7 separate regions of the Homo sapiens genome follow, and all the other regions are linked to region 6. The links are contacts of gene promoters, found by promoter capture Hi-C in human tissues and cell types (Jung and others, 2019). All regions are on one chromosome and are shown on one strand. The core of a region is centred on a gene start or on the middle of the fragment in contact, and the rest is flanking DNA. Distances in the headings are between cores, read along the strand shown.

Region 1 (2,700 bases), core at 44-2,543, 800 kb before region 6:
ACCAGAAAACAACTGCATAATTTCCATGAACATTGGACTGTGCTTCAAGTATCCTCCAAAGGATCTCACTTACTGCCCTATGAGTGACATGGGCTGGGATGCTCTGGTAGAGCACACTCTGGCTGGTGTCTTGGTGCTAGAAATGGATTCAATCACTGGACAAGAAAGTCCTTCAGGGGCAAACATAAGGACACTGAGGGTCATCTTATTCTACCTGCCTTCTCTCCTTACTTGTATCCTAGGCCAGCCTATGCTAGCGCAACTGTCCACAGATCTCTCTCTCTCTTTCTGTCTCTCTCTCGTGTGTGTGTATGTGTGTGTGTGTGTGCATGTGTGTATCAAATGATCAAACATCTTCATTCAAAAGTCCAAGCCCTGCAGCATCATGAGACAGTGCTACCACACATGAAGAAAATGTTCAAAGGGCACCAAATAGAGATCGCATGATCCAAAGTTATTTCTGATCCCAGAAAAGAATGGCACACAATCAATATGAATAGTATTAGATATCAAAATTATAGTACAATCTCATTTGTTTTTACCATAGATTCAAACTCTCTTTAGCATATTGGAAAGCAGAATCCATGTTCTACTGATGCAATTCCCCTTGACCATCATGAAAGAATTGGACTGAAAGCAGGACATTTCTGAAGTCTCTGGAGGATACGTAACATGACTGTTGGAGGGAATGCACATAGGAAGAGGTAGTGAATTATGTGTCAAGTGCCCCAACAAAAGGCTGTCAGTGTTTGTCTCTGACACATTGTTGGGGAGAAAGGTGGAGTCACAGGACACACTGCCATGGGACCCACGAGACTTGATCCTACATCCCACAGCGGGCAGCCTGCATCAACGTGGTCATGCAGGGATAGAAACACAGCCACAGAAAGCTTTCACCTGCCCAAGCAGCATCTCCCAAGAGCCAGCATGGGTGCTGTCTCTGCTCTGCTTCTTCCTGGACTGTGTCTCAGAGCCCTGAGTTCTCCCTCACCCAGTTTCCCAATCCCCCTCTTCTCCACTGGTTACCAGGGGTTAGGGGAGTGGGGAGGGGAAATAAACGTTTAAAGGGTACAAACTTTTCACTTGGGATGATGAGAAAGTTATGGAAATTCATAATGGTGATGACTGTATCACTTTTTTTTCAGAGGTGGTAACTTGCTCTGTTGCCCAGGCTGGAGTGCAGTGGTACAATGATAGCTCACTGCATCCTTGAACTCTTGGGTCTAGGCAAGCCTCCTGCCTCAGACTCCTGAGTAGCTGGGACTACAGGTGCAAGCCACCATGCCAGGCAATTCTATCACATTGTGAATATACTTAACACCACTGAATTTTACAGTTAAAAGTGATTTAAATGGCAAATTTTATGTTGTGTGTATTCTATGACAATTAAAAATACACTTGTTCAAATGTCAAAATATATATGATGTTATATTCATAAAATTTTCCTTTTCACACTTATATATTTATCCTATTCTAACTCATTCTCATCAATTAAAAAAAGTACTGTAATTACTGGTCATTATGTACTAAATTTTCCATAATTCACATTGAAGCCTTAACCCCCAATATTACTGTATTTGGAGACAGAGCATTACAGAGGGTAATTAAGATGAAATGAGATCATAAGGACCGGCATCCTTATAAGAGGAGATTAGAAAATGGACAACATAAAATGAGATGAGGACAGAGTGAGAAGGTGGTCATCTACAAGTGTGGACACATCTTCAGTTTGTGTGGAGTAACAGTTGAAGGGCTCGCCCATCCTATAATGAAAGTTGGAACAGGTGCCTTGGGCGGGCTCCAGGATTAACTGATCTAGTCACTGCATCCCACTGTGGGACCCCAGAGGGAAAGAAGCACTGTGGAGATTCCTGAGACATTAGAAATGGAGCCTGAGAAATTTCCAGGACACCCACATGGGCTCCAGGTGAAGCAGGGGCCCAGAAGGCCTTGTCTGATCCCTGAGTGTGACGCAGCACCTGGCCACTAGGGGGAGGCAAACTCTGTGAATCCTAAGGGACCTGAGCTCTTGCTCTGAGCCCTGCCCTTGTTAATCACCAGCCCTGGGAGGGAGCCGATTTGCATGGAATGTGATGTCCCTGCCCACTTCTTCACTGAGGGAATAAGAGGCTTTAGGGCCTCAGGCTCAGCTGAGAGACTGAAGAACCCAGCATTGCAGCAGCTCCACCATGGCCTGGGCTCCTCTGCTCCTCACCCTCCTCAGTCTCCTCACAGGTCAGGGTGGGCAGTGGGCTGGGCCCCCAAAGGGACCCCCACCTCCCAGCCTCCATCTCCCCATCCCTGCTCTTCCTCCTCCAACAGCTCATCAGCCACCCACCAACAGGAGCCCTCATGGGTGTCTGTGTTTCCAGGGTCCCTCTCCCAGCCTGTGCTGACTCAGCCACCTTCTGCATCAGCCTCCCTGGGAGCCTCGGTCACACTCACCTGCACCCTGAGCAGCGGCTACAGTAATTATAAAGTGGACTGGTACCAGCAGAGACCAGGGAAGGGCCCCCGGTTTGTGATGCGAGTGGGCACTGGTGGGATTGTGGGATCCAAGGGGGATGGCATCCCTGATCGCTTCTCAGTCTTGGGCTCAGGCCTGAATCGGTACCTGACCATCAAGAACATCCAGGAAGAGGATGAGAGTGACTACCACTGTGGGGCAGACCATGGCAGTGGGAGCAACTTCGTGTAACC
Region 2 (2,700 bases), core at 148-2,647, 990 kb before region 6:
TTCATTGAAGTTTCCATTTTATGTGCCTTAACAGATTAATTTTGCTTATTAATTCTGTGATATTTAAGCACTGCTGTAAGCTTCACAGATTTGGCAATAGCCACTATATACTTAATGAGTACAAACTATGGAGTATTTCCATATTAAGGTAGAAGAAATATTTAAAAGCACTTCTACTTGTGATGTCATTGGGGGTGCAACACAATATAAAGTACGCACATTGCTGGAGGAGAAGCATAAAATAAAGAACTCACGGGGCAGAAACTTAAGACACACCTAAATCAAATCTTTGTTTTCAGCATTATCTTTCATTACTATTCTTTGTTACAAAAAAACATTGCTATCTGTCCTTTTCTATATGTTCTCTACATTAAAACTTATTATTTGTATACATACTGTTCCCTACATCTGCAGTGCCATTCCCAGCTCACATATCTGCCCTCTTAAATTTATATCAAATTCAACTCCCTTCAAAAAGCCTTCTCAGTTGCTTTAACCCAAGCCAGTAGTCTGTCTTCTAGAAAACAGTTGATGCCGATGCCTCCTTTTCCTTTAGCAACTGAAAATAATATTATAGTTATTTAATGTGTGTGTGTGTGTGTGTGTGTGCATAACATCATACTATTTAGTAGTATCTATATCTATCAAGTATCTGCTACAGTGGATGATAGATGACTTAAAGACAGAAATATGTTATTCATATCTACTTCTCACAGGTCTAGTGCTGTTGCAGGATATTTTTTAAGGAATCAGAGAGACTGATGGGGTTCAGGAGGATATTTATTATTTAGGTGCACCAGCCCAGTCGGATTAACATCCAAAGGACTGAGCCCTGAACAAAGAGTTAAGTTACCTTTTAAGCATTTTGTAGGGTGGGAGGAGATCTGTGCAGGGGGAAGCATGTTAGAGAAGTGAGAAACAAAGACAGTTATTCAATTAATTGAGAAATGCGTTACATCATTTCTTACTTTTCAAGGAAAAACATGTTTTGCGACTTTTGTTTATGTGTCTAGTGACTTTGCAGCTGCCCAGCTAGGGAATCAGGGTCTTCACAATGCCTGGGAATGGAGGGGAGAGAAAGCTCATTAGCCACAGAAAAATAGGCCGTTAGTTTTTTAAAGGACTCTAGCTCTTTCTCTTTCTCAGGGGGAATTGGATTTTCTTACATACAACTGAGGTTCTGCTTACACATTCTTTAATTTCTTTTAATTCCTGTTCCAGTGCAGTGCAATGTTCATAGTAGATGCTTAATATTTTTTGAATTATTGTATCTTTAGTCATTGCGAGCCATCATTTTGAGAGTCAGTCTCATTCTTTTAGCCCTAGATTATTTTTATTTTCTTGAGATACGTGAATAAAGGGCACAGGAAAAAAACACAGTTGAGAGTTTTGGATAATAGTAACCTAATTCACCCAGATTTTACTTCATATTGGTTGGAACTCTAAGTTGGGTGCAACTAACATGAGACTTGTTTTGATTTATTGTAAACATATTCTTGAATGACTAATGAACAGTGCTTCATGTGAACAAATTTTCACCTTCTGATAATTTCCAATATTACACTTTGAAAAACATTCCCATTGTAGTGCTCTAGAAAATATAATTTCAATTGTTAAAATTCAATATTACTGTAATTGAGGATATTAAATAACTTGTTGTTACATGATGCTAGCTGCAGCTTAAATTTCAGATCATGAGTGTTGTTAATATTATATAGTTGGAATTAGTTCTGAGATCAATGAATCAATGCTGTCTTACTGTTTTGTCTTTAATTTTTATACCACATTTATTTTGTGAGTGGATTTCATAAAAGGAAGTTGCTTTATGTTGCCAAGCTCATTATCTTGGGTTTTTGTCCAGAGCTGAATTCCCTTTTTCATCAAAGGACAGAGAGAGCCCATTATAAACTATTGAGTAATGCTGATTTGATGGGTAGGCCACTTACCTTTAAGTGGAAAGGAGGCCAGGCGCGGTGGCTCACGCCTGTAATCCCAGCACTTTGGGATGCTGAGGAGGGCGGATCATGAGGTCAGGAGATCGAGACCAGTCTGGCCAACTTGGAGAAACCCTGTCTCTACTAAAAATACAAAAATTAGCCGGGCGTGGTGGCGGGTGCCTGTAGTCCCAGCTACTCGGGAGGCCGAGGCAGGAGAATGGCGTGAACCTGGGAGGCGGAGCTTGCAATGAGTCAAGATCACACCGCTGAACTCCAGCCTGGGTGACAGAGCGAGACTCCTTCTCAAAAAAAAATTACACAAAAATGTTAGACTAATAAATATTAATAAACACTAAAGGAAGAAATTTAGTGGAACATTTATCAGAGGCAACAGACCAGGAAGTTATAGTTACCCTGTGAAAAGGCATCATCTAGGATTCATAGAAAACATTTGCAAATTGGCAACAACCACCACCACAACAAACTAAAACAAATGAAAGAAATAGACATTTATACAGGGAAAATATAAATAGATAATAAGTGTAATAAATTTTGTGACTTTCCACTTGAAAACAAAGAAATGGAAATAAAACCTATGTAAAGAAGTGGTGGAGTGAGCCGAGCTGGGGTGGGAGGGGTGGGGGCATCCCAGGCAGAGGGAACAGCAGATGCAAAGGTCTGGAGGCTGGAGCAGGCTGTGAGGGGTGAGAGCAGCAAGTACATGAAGTCTAGACCACAAATCGATGCTTCACCCTCAAAAATA
Region 3 (2,700 bases), core at 118-2,617, 940 kb before region 6:
CAGAGTCTTGCTGTCAGCGAGGCTGGAGTGCAGTGCAGTGAGCTGGGCTCACTGCAACCTAAGCCTCCCTGGTTCAAACGATTCTCCTGCCTCAGCCTCCTGAGTAGCTGGGATACAGGCGTGCGCCACCATGCCTGGCTAAATTTTTTGTATTTTTTAGTAGAGACGGGGTTTCACCATGTTGGTCAGGCTGGTCTGGAACTCCTGACTTCGGGATCCGCCGTCCTCGGCCTCCCAAAGTGCTGGGATTACAGGCGTGAACCACCGTGCCCGACCTCTTTTTTTTTTTTTTTTTTTTTTGGTTTTGTTAGTTTAGTTTTGTTTTATCTCTTTAACTTGACAGAGATGATCCATGTGGATCTCTGCATGGGTCTGGGAGCTGCAAGGCTCCTGGTGCATGGCCCAGTCCCGCCTGCCTTGGCAGGGCTCCTCCACCTGGCTCCTGGAGGAGCTGCTGCGCCCGACTACCCTGCATGGAGCCCGCGGCTTAGCGGCAGCTCGGGAGGGGCCTGATAGAAACTTCCCCCTGAGCAAGCAGCGCCAAACCCAGGCCGCCACCCAGGATGGAGGCTGCATCACCCCCGGGGAGCCCGGATCCTCGCCAGGGTCCACCAGGAGAAGAGCACATGGCGGAGATGAGCCTGCGGGGCTGGGAGAGAGAGAAGACACGGCGAAGATGCAGGTGAAGACGCTGCACTAAGGCCCCACCCAGAGGCTGAGGTTCCCCGACCAGACCAGCAGCAGCGAGGCTGCCCAGAGCGGCGCCAGCAAGGTGGTTCTCTCCAGGTCGGATCACAGGAGAAGCTAGCCTTGCACCTGGCCCAGGCGAGAAGCAGGACATGGGCTTACGCAGAAGAATCAGCACCGATTCCACATCATTCCCCATGGCAACGGCCTCTACGGTGCTGTCAGCAAGACCCAGTGCTAGACCCGAGCCTGCACCAGGAGCTGCGGAGCGGAGGGTGCGCCCCATCCCGATCGTCTCCACCACTTTAGCTCCCTGGGTGAGGGTGACACGGGGAAGCTTATTATCGCGGCTGCCCAAAACGGGGCGTGGCTGGGTACCCTGTGTACATAGGGTAGATGCTGAATGTGAATAGCACTGAACTACTAGAGGGAGGCTGGAGAGGCCCACAGTGTCTATCTACCATGATTCATTATTTGGGCCCAGAGGATTGCCTAAAGCCTAGTATTTGGCTCAGTTGGCTCAGTAACGGGCACTAGGATGCAGTATTTGATCACTCCTATCCTAACCAAGTACGACAACTGGTGCAAACAGACTCAAAAGCAAAAGGCAACGCAATGAATAACTTGCTCACTCTGGGGCCACATATTCTGAATAAAATGCCTACCCTTGAAATGTCTGAAAACCTTACACCCTGGGAAAATTGCATACAGAACTTGTGCTTGGAGAATGACATGAACTCTAATCAGGGTAATAACACTTGTAAAGTTCCTAACAGCTTTTCTTTCCTTTTTTTTTTTTTTTTTTTTTTTGAGATGGAGTTTCGCAGTGTTGCCCAGGCTGGAGTGCAGTGGCGCGACCTCGGCTCACTGCAAGCTCCGCCTCCTGGGTTCACGCCATTCCCCTGCCTCAGCCTCCCGAGTAGCTGGGACCACGGGTGCCCACCACCACGCCCGGCTAATTTTTTGTATTTTTAGTAGAGACGGGGTTTCACGGTGTTAGCCAGGATGGTCTCAATCTCCTGACCTCGTGATCCACCCGCCTCGGCCTCCTACAGCGCTGGGATTACAGGCGTGAGCCACCGCAGCTGGCACTTCCTAATAGCTTTTCTGTGAGTGTAACGCCATAATCATCTTTTAAAATGTTTTCTCGGAACTAAAAGTTGCTGGGCGCCTAAATGATGTTGCATGATAGTTTTGGGTGATTTTACTGCATCTGTAATTTTCTGTTTAAGTGAGCACTGCTTAATTTGAAAGCTAATTTCTCACAGTGTAAATCTGTTCATTCCTGGTAGTCTATTTTCTACAAAAGTGTATTTTTACACAACATTAAAAAATGGTGTACCTTCATCTATGACAGTACATTACTTTTGACAAGCAGCTTTCAGGCAGAAATTAAGAGAAGTGTTTTATATAAAATTTATTATTTTGAACAGAGTTTGTGATTTGGTAGTTACGCTGTTGAAATTTGAATTTTACAATTCTTAGAAACTTATATTGATGCATTCTTGTTACCAAATGATTGGCCCATTACATTTTGATACAAATAGATTTGTTGTTTTGGAACCATTATTTGTTTAGAAATGGTCAATCTTTTAGAGAGAAATACTTAACAAAGGATTGTGGGAAGTTTTTTTTTTTCTTCTTCTTTAACGGATTGTACCAGGTCTTACTTGAATGAAAGTCTGATGCTTGCTGATGGCAGAGTGACTAATCTGCACTAGATTGATGTTAGAGCAGAATGTTGGGTGATCTCAATTGTTTTTATTTATGTTTGTGATTTTGTTTTAAGGTAATCTTAACATGGTATAAGACTCTGTGACAAGCTAAACCTACTGCAATATAGCATGTTGGAGTCCCCTAAGAGTTTTAAAAGCTAATGGCATAAATGCCTGGAGCCAACCTCGGCAGTTATTTCATAGCAGAAGATACCGTCTTAATACTCCTTTTAAATTCTTTTAAAAGGCAAAATAGGATCATCCTATTTTATAATGTACAAATGTCTGCAGAGATTGT
Region 4 (2,700 bases), core at 34-2,533, 820 kb before region 6:
CTAATTTTTGTATTTTTAGTAGAGATGGGGTTTCTCCATGTTGGTCAGGCTGGTCTCGAACACCTGATCTCCGGTGATCTGCCCGCCTCGGCCTCCTGAAGTGCTGGGATTACTGGCGTGAGCCAATGCGCCCAGCCCAGATAACCCTTTTTTTTTTTTTTTTTTTTGAGCAGGAGTCTCGCTCTGTCGCCCAGGATGCAGTGCAGTGGCGCGATCTTGGCTCACTGCAACCTCTGCCTCCCGGTTGAAGTGATTCTCCTGCCTCAGCCTCCCTAGTAGCTGGGACTACAGGCATGTGCCACCATGCCCGGCTAATTTTTTTTTTTCCTTGTGGCAACGGGGTTTCACCGTGTTTGGTCTTGATCTCTTGACCTTGTGATCCGCCCACCTTGGCCTCTCAAACTGCTGGGATTACAGGCATGAGCCACCGTGCCTGGCCCCAGATAACCCTTTTTATGTGAGAGTGTAGAGAATGTTGCTGCAGCTGGTGTGGGATGGGGGATGGCTGGGTTGAGACTGTGTTGTCACCTGCAGTGTACACCTGAGGTGACATGGTTCTGAACATCACTTTCCCCATTGAAGGCCCGAGTGACCTATCACTTGCTTCTCAAAATTCAGGAACTAGGTGACTCTAGGAGAGTGCACAGGAAGCTTTCTGCATATTCTTTCAAGAGATTTCGAGGTCACTGACTCTTTTTTCAAGACTTAAACACAAAATCCACATCCATCATTCTTGCGTAAAGAGACCATTCTTTTTTTTTTGAGATGGAGTCTCGCTCTGTTGCCCAAGCTGGAGTGCAGTGGCATGATCTCGGCTCACTGCAAGCTCTGTCTTCTGGGTTCATGCCCTTCTCCTGCCTCAGCCTCCCAAGTAGCTGGGACTACAGGCACCCGCCGCCATGCCCGGCTAATTTTTTGTATTTTTTAGTGGAGATGGGGTTTCAACATGTTGGCCAGAATGGTCTTGATCTCTTGACCTCGTGATCCACCCGCCTTGGCCTCCCAAAGTGCTGGGATTACAGGTGTGAGCCACTGCACCCGGCCCAAGATGGGGTTTCATCATGTTGACCTGGCTGGTCTCAAACTCCCAACCTCAAGTGATCCACTCACTTCAGCCTCCCAAAGTGCTGGGATGACAGGCGTGAGCCACAGTGCCCGGCCTAGTACATTGTTTAAATGGTGCATGTAAAACCTCATGGTACTACAACTGCCTGGTGACAGACTCACCAGAGTAAATAACTATCCTGCTGTTCTCCAACCACATGGGATTCCCCAAACAAAGATTTGTTGAGTCCAAGATGCATCATGCCAGAACTCTTGCAGTCATACACATAATTTGTTTCATTTTAATAAATACGGTTATCTTTTTTCTTCAGTTTATTGTTTTTAATGTATCATCTTCTAGGTTTCATTACACATCAAAGATGAATAATTTCTCTCATCTTTAGGACATGCTGAAAACACTCATTAGTGATTTTGAACAGTATTATTTCCTAAACATCCTAGTTGGAATGGTTGATCCTAAAAGCTACCATGTGTCAGGCTCACCTGAGTGCAGACTGTGGTCTAAACAAGCTAAAGTTTTAATTCTTCCATCTTCAAATACGGAGCATATTTGCTTGTTTTGCTCTTTAGCAAAACACTGCAAAGTCATTCGCCAGGATCTCCTGCAGACTGGCATTCAGTGATGGAGAACAGACTCCTAGGTGAGATCCCTGGTCACAGGATCCAGATGACTATGACTGCAAGTCTGGAAAAGAAGAGACAGAACAAAGATTTACCAGCATAACCCTCTGAGAATGTGCCCCAGCCATCCTGGAGGGAAGAGCTCCCTATTGACCCAGCACTGCAGAATCCACAGAGGAAGGACAGCTCTGGCCACCAGGGAGCAGCCACACGACAAGAGAGGACCCGGTGTCCCCACAGGTGAGGAAATGAGTCCATGGGGCTGGTCAGTGCTCTCGATTTCATTCTGCCATAACAGGACTTTGTGTAGTCACCACCTGAGTCCTATACAGTGAACAGCCAAGGAGACATGGACAGATTCACCCCTGAGGAACCCAGTAGAATGTGAAGTCTGCCCTGAGGTCACGAAGAAAAGACTCAGGGGGCTGCCTGGCCTGGCCCTGATGGAGGGGGCCATGGACAGAACAACGGGGAGGCAGGGGTGTCTCTGAGAGGCTCTGGTCACCTTGTCATACAATGGTGGTGTACAATGTCGCACCATGGACACTAGGGGGCGCCTGCGCACCATTCCTGAGAAGACTGGGTGTGATGAGAGCAGGACCAGCGCCACCTGTCCTGCTTGGTGCCCTATGCTTAGGGCTCACAGATGTCAACTCTCCACCCCCTGGGACCACACAGCCCCACCCCTGGCACTCTCTGACATCCTCAGGCAGAGGAGCTTGACCCAGGGCCCAGGGTGGGATCAGAAAGCTGGAGGGTCTGATTTGCATGGATGGACCCTCCTTCTCTCAGAGTATAAAGAGGGGCAGGGAGAGACTTGGGGAAGCTCTGCTTCAGCTGTGAGCGCAGAAGGCAGGACTCGGGACAATCTTCATCATGACCTGCTCCCCTCTCCTCCTCACCCTTCTCATTCACTGCACAGGTGCCCAGACACAGGGTCAGGGGAGGGGTCCAGGAAGCCCATGAGGCCCTGCTTTCTCCTTCTCTCTCTAGACCAAGAATCACCGTGTCTGT
Region 5 (2,700 bases), core at 73-2,572, 780 kb before region 6:
GCATTTTCCAGGAATAAATAACCTTGTCCCAAAAACAAACATATTTAAAGACATTTCCTTCTGTGGACACTGATTCCATGCTATCTGTTTTCCAAGGAAGTGGTGAGCCCGTTTCTGAGAACACCTGGTATCAATGGCTGTCCCTTCCAAACCAAGCAAAAAGTGATTTCTTGTCGGTGTGGATTTGGTTTTGTTATTAATTTTAAAACATACCTTTGAAGACTTAGATCTCTGAAACTACTAGATCTCTAGAAGTGTAATTGTGAAAAAAGTTTGCTTGCATCATCAACAACATGAAAAACTCTTTCTAAATAAAATTTGTTTTGAAGTTAAAAAAAAGAATAATGCAAGATTGGAAACTGGGAGGTCTGAAGATTCCCAAGAGCACTCTCAATTCTGAAGCTAATTTTCAGCTCAGGGACCCCAAACAGCCCTTCACTTCTTATGAGTCCCTAGAAGGACTCACATGACTCACTGAAAACTGTGACATTCATTAATGTGATTTTTCTACAGTGAAATAATACAGATTAAAATAATTCAAGGAAAGAGACACATGGGCAGAGTTCAGGAGAATTCCAAGCACAAGCATCCATTTGTCCTCTCCCAGTGGAGTAATAGACAACGCTGCATTCTGCCGGCAACAATGTGTGATTCTATGTAGGAAGCATTGCCAACCAGCAAAGCTCACCCAGGCTTGGTGTCCAGAAAAATTTTGATTGGTGGGGTGGGTGAGAGTGGGGTTGTTATGTAGACCTTGATGACCATCCTCATGGCTCACTTGAGTTTCCACTGAATTGACAATAAAACTTCAATCTTCAACCTTTGGTCATTTTCTTTTAAAAAATTTTCTAAAGAAAATTATTTTAAAAAGTCTCATATAAACGAGCTGTTTATCCAATATGAGGCTCAACGCAAATAGTTTCAAAAAGTCAGTAGGTCATTAAAACAATTATTTAGTCATTCAAACTAAATATTTAGTCATTCAAACGTTGTTATCTGGTGTTCAGATAGCAACGAACACCATGTAGCACTAAAATCGCATTATAGTCACAGGGGCAGGATTTCAGCAACAGCAAGAGAAAGTAATACAAACAGGAATGAGCAAAGAATAGACAAGTAATGGGTATGAATTGGCCTGGGAAATATTGTGGCAATGTCCAAAGACAAATCAATAGTTATTTGTTAAAGAAGTGAAAGACAACACATTCTCAGTCCAGGAAAGCCACCAGGGGGTGGTCTGGGTCTCTTGGATTGTAAGAAGCTCAAGAGGTTCAAACTTAATGAACCCTGCACAGATGCTCACTGACTCATGGAAATGTTAGAGCAGCTGCTTCCTCCCACAGGACAAATCCACAGCACACAGCCACCCTGGGCTGGCCCCCCACAGTGTAGCTGCTCTCAGGGCTGTGGACCCAGGTGGTGATAAAGGCAGTAAAGATTTGCATAAAGCAGCACACAGCACACCCCCTCCGTGCGGAGAGCTCAATAGGAGATAAAGAGCCATCAGAATCCAGCCCCAGCTCTGGCACCAGGGGTCCCTTCCAATATCAGCACCATGGCCTGGACTCCTCTCTTTCTGTTCCTCCTCACTTGCTGCCCAGGTTAAGAGAGATTTCAAATACCAGCCTTTGGAGGGATCCCTTTTTCTCCCTTTCTAATTCCTAATATATGTCTGTTTTTTTTGTTTCAGGGTCCAATTCCCAGGCTGTGGTGACTCAGGAGCCCTCACTGACTGTGTCCCCAGGAGGGACAGTCACTCTCACCTGTGGCTCCAGCACTGGAGCTGTCACCAGTGGTCATTATCCCTACTGGTTCCAGCAGAAGCCTGGCCAAGCCCCCAGGACACTGATTTATGATACAAGCAACAAACACTCCTGGACACCTGCCCGGTTCTCAGGCTCCCTCCTTGGGGGCAAAGCTGCCCTGACCCTTTTGGGTGCGCAGCCTGAGGATGAGGCTGAGTATTACTGCTTGCTCTCCTATAGTGGTGCTCGGCACAGTGACAGACCCATGAGAGGAACCAAGACATAAACCTCCCTCGGCCCTTGTGATGTGGAGATCACATGATCAGACATGCCAGATCCCAAGATAGCCTACATGTGGACCAGCCATAGAAAGGGGAAGGAAAGGGTTTGAATTGATTCCTATTTCTACTTAAGTCTTGATGTGTAGGAAATGTAAGAATGATTTGGGAGTAACTGGATCAAAAAAAAAAAAGGAAAAGTTAATTGTTTTCTATTCTAAAAGGAACACTAACAGCAGGATCACATATAAAGGCTGGGTCAAAATGCATTTCCTCCAGAAAGAAGCATCTTCAGTGTATAGGCTTTCTGAGCTAAGAGCAAAGAAACTTTTTTTGCATATTACTGAAGTTTGTTTTATTGAGTTACTTTCAAACCAATACCTCCAGAAAGAAGCATCTTCAGTGTATAGGCTTTCTGAGCTAAGAGCAAAGAGAAGAAACTCTTTTTTTGTATATGACTAAAATTTGCTTTATTGATTTACTTTCAAACCAATACATGCCTATTATATAAAATAAAAATATTAAAAACCACCAAGTTCACTGCAAAGCTGTCTCATCAGAAACAATCCAATTTCTTCATTTGGATGCATTCTTTCATTTTTGTTCTCAATATTTCCACAATGGGGGTCATACCTTGTGCTTTTTCTCTCTGGTTTTACACATCTTTATGCCTCCTC
Region 6 (2,700 bases), core at 98-2,597:
GAGGAGTTCAGGGTGATCTCTAGCTCCTGCCAAATCCCCAAATCCAAATTAGTAAGTGACCCCACAGCTTAATCTTCCCTTCTCCTAAATCCCATTGGCACACTCCCTTCCCCTAATTCTCTATTTACTTCTCTGCTTCCCGCAGTGGACTCCAATTTCCCTGAGGGTGGACACCATGTCCGTTCTCTTTCCTTGTCTCCCCAGTGCTAGGCATATACCAGGAAGCTTTCAGTACATGTAGGACAAATGAATAGTTAATGGACTTGAATCAAGCTTTACAGTATAAAAGCACTTTCACCATCTCAGGTGATCCATTGAAATAGATAGTTGCGTTTATTTTATAGTTGAGTAAACTGAGGTGCGGAAGGTGGAACAACTCACCTAAGTTCACCCCCTAAGCCTCAACCTTAGCAGTGAAACTCACTAAAAGACATTAAACAGAGCCAGGTGTGGTGGCCCTTGCCTGTAGTCCCAAGGACTGGGGAGGCTGAGGCGGGAGGATTCCTTGAGCCTAGGAGTTCGAGTCCAGCCTGGACAACATAGCAAGACTCCATCTCTTTAAAAAAAAAAAAAAAAGACATCAAACACCAGCCTCCAGCACACTTAGCTTTGAATTGAAGATGACTGAGTTAGATCTGTGTACCAAGGCTTCCATATTGTGATGCAGAAAAGTTAAGGAGCTGAATTAAGTAGGTTCTCAAACTGAACCCCGGACTTCGAAGCTGGTTCCACGGTTTTATAAGGGCCACAAGAGGCCATCTAGCCCAAAACAGCTAACTTTCCAAACCGAAACTAGTTCAGAGGAAATCACTGACTCAGGTCAGCTTTTTATTAAGGAAATTAATTTTGTACCGTGAGCTCTAGAAGCCAGGCATATGATATTCAGACAGCACTGGATTCAGAACTATGCAGACTAAGGTCAGTAGATGGTAGGCAGGTCTATCTTCTGCAGCTGCAGGGTGCTTGACTCCAATTAAACATCAATACCACATCAGGAGCTCTTATGCCATAACCGCCCAACCTCTCCCAGCCGAGCTGATCACCAGAACCTGCGCGAATCTCTCCACGGTCAGCCCCACCCAGGGCTCAGGCTCCGCCCCCGGGCCTCCATAGCCCCGCCCACCGCCCACCCATCCAGCACCGCCCTTGTTGTCATGGTGATCTCCGGCTCTCCAGGGTGTCCAGGAGTCTCTCTGCTGCCAGCCCCGCCCAGACTCCAGGCAGGTTCTCGTTGCTATGGTGATCGCCGGTGCAAGCTGGATGCTTGGACGCGCCGCTGCCAGTCCAACGCAGACCCCGCCCACGACGTCGACGATTCGTGTAGCCCGCAGGTCCCGCGTGGCTCTCGTTGCCATGGTGATCGCCGCCGCTGGCTCAGGCGGACCAGGCCGCGCGGAGCCCCAGCTTTCACAGCCATCGCTGGTGAGTCAGCTCGCCCACTCTGTCCGACCCTCCCGGTCACCCAACCCCGTGCTGGCACATCCCGAGGCCAGGGCCGCGAGGGCACAGCGTCCGCGCCCACTTCCCGCCCCTATAACTTGAAAGCGGCCTGCGGCCCCGGGGCGTCCTCATTTCCGGAGCGCAAACTCTGGGCCAGGCCCGCGCTGGTTGTGGAGGAGAGCCAGGTCAGATGCGGGAAGACAACCGGACTCCGCCAGGACCACCCCAGCCCAGCCTGGAGAGGAGTCCGGACAGAAAAAGGAGACAGAGGGGCTGTTGAGGAGGCTCGAGGAGTCAGAGGCCTGGTGAAGTGAGGGTTTTCAGGGAAAAGGCCTAGTTGGCTGAAAGTTAAGGCCCCCAGGCCCACCTAGAGCCTTCGTCCTTTGCAGACTGGGAGCAGGAGACCCCTCCCCACTCTACTTCCACTGCCTGAGCTGTGCCATGCCTCACAGCCCAGTAAGGTAAGCTCAGAGGGGAGCTCCTCCTTGGTAGACACCTGTCAAGGGGAGACCCAGGTCTTCTGACTCCCAGGCAGGGTGGGGCAGGCCTGGTTCCCCCATACCATGCTGCCTGCTGTATGCAGATTGAGAGAAATGGCCTCTGCCCCATATTCCTGACAGAGAGGGAAGCCTGGATCTGGTTTTATTTATAATTCTTGAGACAAGGTCTTACTCTATCACCCAGGCTGGAGTGCAGTGGCACCTTCACGGTTCACTGCACCCTTGACCTCCCAGGCTCAAGCATTCCTCCCACCTTCCTCCCAAGTAGCTGGGACTGCAGGCACAGGCCACCATGCCCTGCTAATTTTTTTGGTTTTTTTTTGTAGAGACTGAGGTTTCACTTTGTTGCCCAGGCTGGTCTCAACCTCCTGGGCCCAAGTGATCCTCCCACCTTGGCCTCCCAAAGTGCTGGGATTACAGGCATGAGCCACTGCACCCAGCCTGGATCTGATGAAAAGTTAGGTGGAAACTCATGGGTGAATCCCCAGGTATTTGCACAGCTCCTTAACTGTCTTTCTCCTGGTTGGGTCCACAGGACTGTGGAAGAATGAGGTCCTCCCTGACACCTTTGGGGCCCCCTGTGAGCCGCGACCGTGTCATCGCCAGCTTCCCTAAGGTAGAGAGTCATTACGTCTGCAGTGCTCTCCTGGCCCTGCAGCCACATCAGCTCTCCCCACTCTACACTCATGCCTAGAAGTAAAGCAGGTGAATCAAGGAGGTCTGTCCATTGTCAGATTTACCTTGAGGAGCTGGGAGACTG
Region 7 (2,700 bases), core at 125-2,624, 960 kb before region 6:
TCATAGCATTGGTGTGACATATGGGTAAGGCAAAGTGACCCCAGTGAATGAGGAAGCAGGACAAAAACTGTTTTCTCTGCTCCACTATGAAGGCTGCCACGTGGCCCTGAGAAACAGTGCCTGTTTTCCTTACTACTCAAGAAAGATAGATAGATAGATAGGCAGATAGCTAGCTAGATAGATAGCTAGCTAGACAGATAGGCAGATAGCTAGCTAGCTAGCTAGCTAGACAGATAGATAGGCAGATAGCTAGCTAGATGCTAGATAGACAGATACCTAGATAGCTAGATAGATTTTTTGCTTTGGGTTCCTTAGGAACAAGTTTGCTAGGCCAAGCTCCTAAGGAGTACACAAGTCTGTATTAATGTGGCCAATATTAAGGCAGATCCTGTCACCCCCTGCATGTCGATACATTGTCACCACATGGGAACTGCAAGGACATTTTTCCCTGTGGATTTAAACACTGGAACTCTGCTGCATGGCACACCCCTGCCACATCAAGTTTCATTTTAACAATCACCCATAAGATATAACTTCTTAAGAAAATTTTGAATTCTAACAAAATGCTAGAAATCACACTGTTGATACACAGCGATGGAAATAATGAAAATTTATAGACAGTGAAATAAAAAGATTTAAAATTTTTGGTGGTTTATAAAGGTTTTCTCAGTTGTTCAGTGCGTGGGTTTTGGGATTAGGAGAAAATGAGGAGAAACTGCCTCCACCACATTGAACATGACAACTGATTTGCAATAATCTAACAAAGAAGAAGGATATAAATAATCATTAATGTCATCCTGACAGCCCTGATCCTAAATGTCAGAATTTTATTTCTTAACTTTTTTCTCCAAAAAAAAAATGTAGCTTCAGAAAAACTTCTGGAATGGTGGTATGAGGCCATCAGAAAACCTGATTCACCATACAAGCAATGAGAACAGCAGTAAAAATGATATAAATCTACTTTTCAGAACTCTGTACATTACCAAAAGCTTACAAAATTCTGGGAATCATAAAAAATAGTAATAACAGCCAGACATGGTGGCTCATGCCTATAATCCCAACACATTGGGAGCTGAAGCAGAGCGATTGCTTTATCACTCCTGGGATTTTGTGATCAGACTGGGCAACAGAGTGAGGCCTCTTCTCTAAAAAACATTTTAAAAAAGTAGCTATATGTGGTGGTGTGTGGGTGTAGTTGCAGCTACTGGGGAGGCTGAAGGTGGAGGATCACTTGAGTCTGGGAGGTGGAGGCTGCAGTGGGCTGTGATTGTGCCACTCTACTTCAGCCTGAGTCATAAAGCAATACCCTGTCTGAATCAATCAATCAATCAATTAAAATAATGTGGAATCTCTGTAAGAATCTGAAGCTTTGTGGTGATTTTATTTCTTTTGCTCTCTCCCAAGTTCCACAGTAGCCTTAAAAACCAACAGCCTCAAATCTCCTGGATCTAGGGAAACTAGAAAAATAGCATTCACTGAAGCAACCAAATACCAGATCTGGAATTTTCTCAAAAGCCCCATTCCCGTGCGACTGTCATTATTTGAGCTTTCCAAAGCTCAGAAAAGCTTCACGCTCTGTACTTTTCTAAATGTGAATTGTCTCAGAGCTCGCTTGGTTTAAACAGCTTCATCCTCAATACATTTATCAAAACAATCAGTGAGATCTGTTAAGGTCCTGAGTCAGTGATACAAGATGGGGTCAATAAAAGGCTGACCAAAAACCTTGAGAGAAAAAAACTGGGTGTCAGAATCTGTAGAAGATTTTGATGAGCTCTGCCATATTCCTGGAAAGACAGAAGATCACTCTCATGCTCAGAGTTATGTGCATGGCCAGGTAAAAATTAGGAAAGTCCTTAATTTTCGACACTGGCTGAAATCAACAAGGAAGGCTAAAATAGAGTTGTAAAGTGGCGGGGTTTTGCAGTCATGACCCAACCCCTGCACAGAGCATTCGGCAAATGCTGAGGAATGTGTTGTTCGAGGCGTTTAAGAACATGTCTGTCCAATAATAAGCTAATGACTGATATAATTGAGCAGAGACTGCAGTGGCTGCACAAGCAAAGAAAACAGACTTAGAGAATTATTCCAGTACCGTGAAACAATAAATCATCATCAACAATAACAACTACAACAAAACCAGAAGCAATTATGACAAATATTTTAAGGAAAGAATCTGATTTCCAGAATCGTCACATTGTGTGACTGAGAAGCTCCATTTGGCAAAGTGAAATTTTGAGGCAGGGACACAGCAAAGTACTGTCCATACACAGGGTTAAAAAGGAAAGCAAAGCAAAACATAAAAACAAACAAACAACATTAAAAATAAGTTGACAAAATGATGTCCAGAGATGCATTTGGTGGTTACTACATAAAAACTTCAAATTAGCTTTTGTAAATGTGGTCAAATAAATAAATAAAACAACGTTAACAATTGTTAAGGAAAGTACGGAAAGAATGCCTCATTACAGAGAGAACATTGGCGGGGTGCAGTGCCTCACACCTGCAATCACAGAACTTTGTGAGGCCAAGGCAGACAGATCTCTTGAGCCCAGGAGTTTGAGGCTAGCCTGGGTAACATGGCCAAACCATGTCTCTACAGGAAATACAAAAAAGCTAGCTGGGCATGGTGGTGCATGCCAGTAGTACCAGCTACTCAGGAGGCTGAGGTGGGAGGATTTCTGGAGCTTGGGAGGCAGAAGT

Evidence for each region. Contacts are between HindIII fragments. The study calls those that stand out against the background at their distance.
Region 1: a contact is called between a fragment that was not itself captured here and the fragment with the promoter of RAB36 in region 6, in 2 of the 25 tissues and cell types used here (lymphoblastoid cells and spleen).
Region 2: a contact is called between a fragment that was not itself captured here and the fragment with the promoter of RAB36 in region 6, in 1 of the 25 tissues and cell types used here (dorsolateral prefrontal cortex).
Region 3: a contact is called between a fragment that was not itself captured here and the fragment with the promoter of RAB36 in region 6, in 2 of the 25 tissues and cell types used here (H1 embryonic stem cells and mesenchymal stem cells).
Region 4: a contact is called between a fragment that was not itself captured here and the fragment with the promoter of RAB36 in region 6, in 2 of the 25 tissues and cell types used here (dorsolateral prefrontal cortex and thymus).
Region 5: a contact is called between a fragment that was not itself captured here and the fragment with the promoter of RAB36 in region 6, in 2 of the 25 tissues and cell types used here (IMR-90 fibroblasts and liver).
Region 7: a contact is called between a fragment that was not itself captured here and the fragment with the promoter of RAB36 in region 6, in 2 of the 25 tissues and cell types used here (bladder and hippocampus).

What each region holds. Positions count from the first base shown.
Region 1 is chr22:22,341,035-22,343,734 of GRCh38, forward strand. It overlaps IGL, the pseudogene ASH2LP3 and IGLV9-49. Among named protein-coding and RNA genes, the nearest start is that of VPREB1, 98 kb to the left of the region's middle. The HindIII fragment of the contact is 3,556 bases long and covers 1-2,700 here.
Region 2 is chr22:22,151,241-22,153,940 of GRCh38, forward strand. It overlaps IGL. Among named protein-coding and RNA genes, the nearest start is that of VPREB1, 92 kb to the right of the region's middle. The HindIII fragment of the contact is 8,574 bases long and covers 1-2,700 here.
Region 3 is chr22:22,202,730-22,205,429 of GRCh38, forward strand. It overlaps IGL and the pseudogene LOC100419915. Among named protein-coding and RNA genes, the nearest start is that of VPREB1, 41 kb to the right of the region's middle. The HindIII fragment of the contact is 6,097 bases long and covers 1-2,700 here.
Region 4 is chr22:22,319,946-22,322,645 of GRCh38, forward strand. It overlaps IGL, the pseudogene BMS1P20 and IGLV1-51. Among named protein-coding and RNA genes, the nearest start is that of VPREB1, 77 kb to the left of the region's middle. The HindIII fragment of the contact is 8,428 bases long and covers 1-2,700 here.
Region 5 is chr22:22,368,093-22,370,792 of GRCh38, forward strand. It overlaps IGL, the pseudogene ASH2LP2 and IGLV7-46. Among named protein-coding and RNA genes, the nearest start is that of VPREB1, 120 kb to the left of the region's middle. The HindIII fragment of the contact is 6,576 bases long and covers 1-2,700 here.
Region 6 is chr22:23,144,130-23,146,829 of GRCh38, forward strand. RAB36 (RAB36, member RAS oncogene family) reads left to right here and starts at 1,348. Exons shown (of 11, transcript NM_004914.5): 1 at 1,348-1,422; 2 at 2,476-2,556. The coding sequence starts at 2,488. It also overlaps a transcript of RSPH14 not described here. RefSeq lists a silencer at 1,101-1,170. The HindIII fragment of the contact is 15,551 bases long and covers 1-2,700 here.
Region 7 is chr22:22,182,865-22,185,564 of GRCh38, forward strand. It overlaps IGL, the pseudogene IGLVV-58 and the pseudogene BMP6P1. Among named protein-coding and RNA genes, the nearest start is that of VPREB1, 61 kb to the right of the region's middle. The HindIII fragment of the contact is 5,139 bases long and covers 1-2,700 here.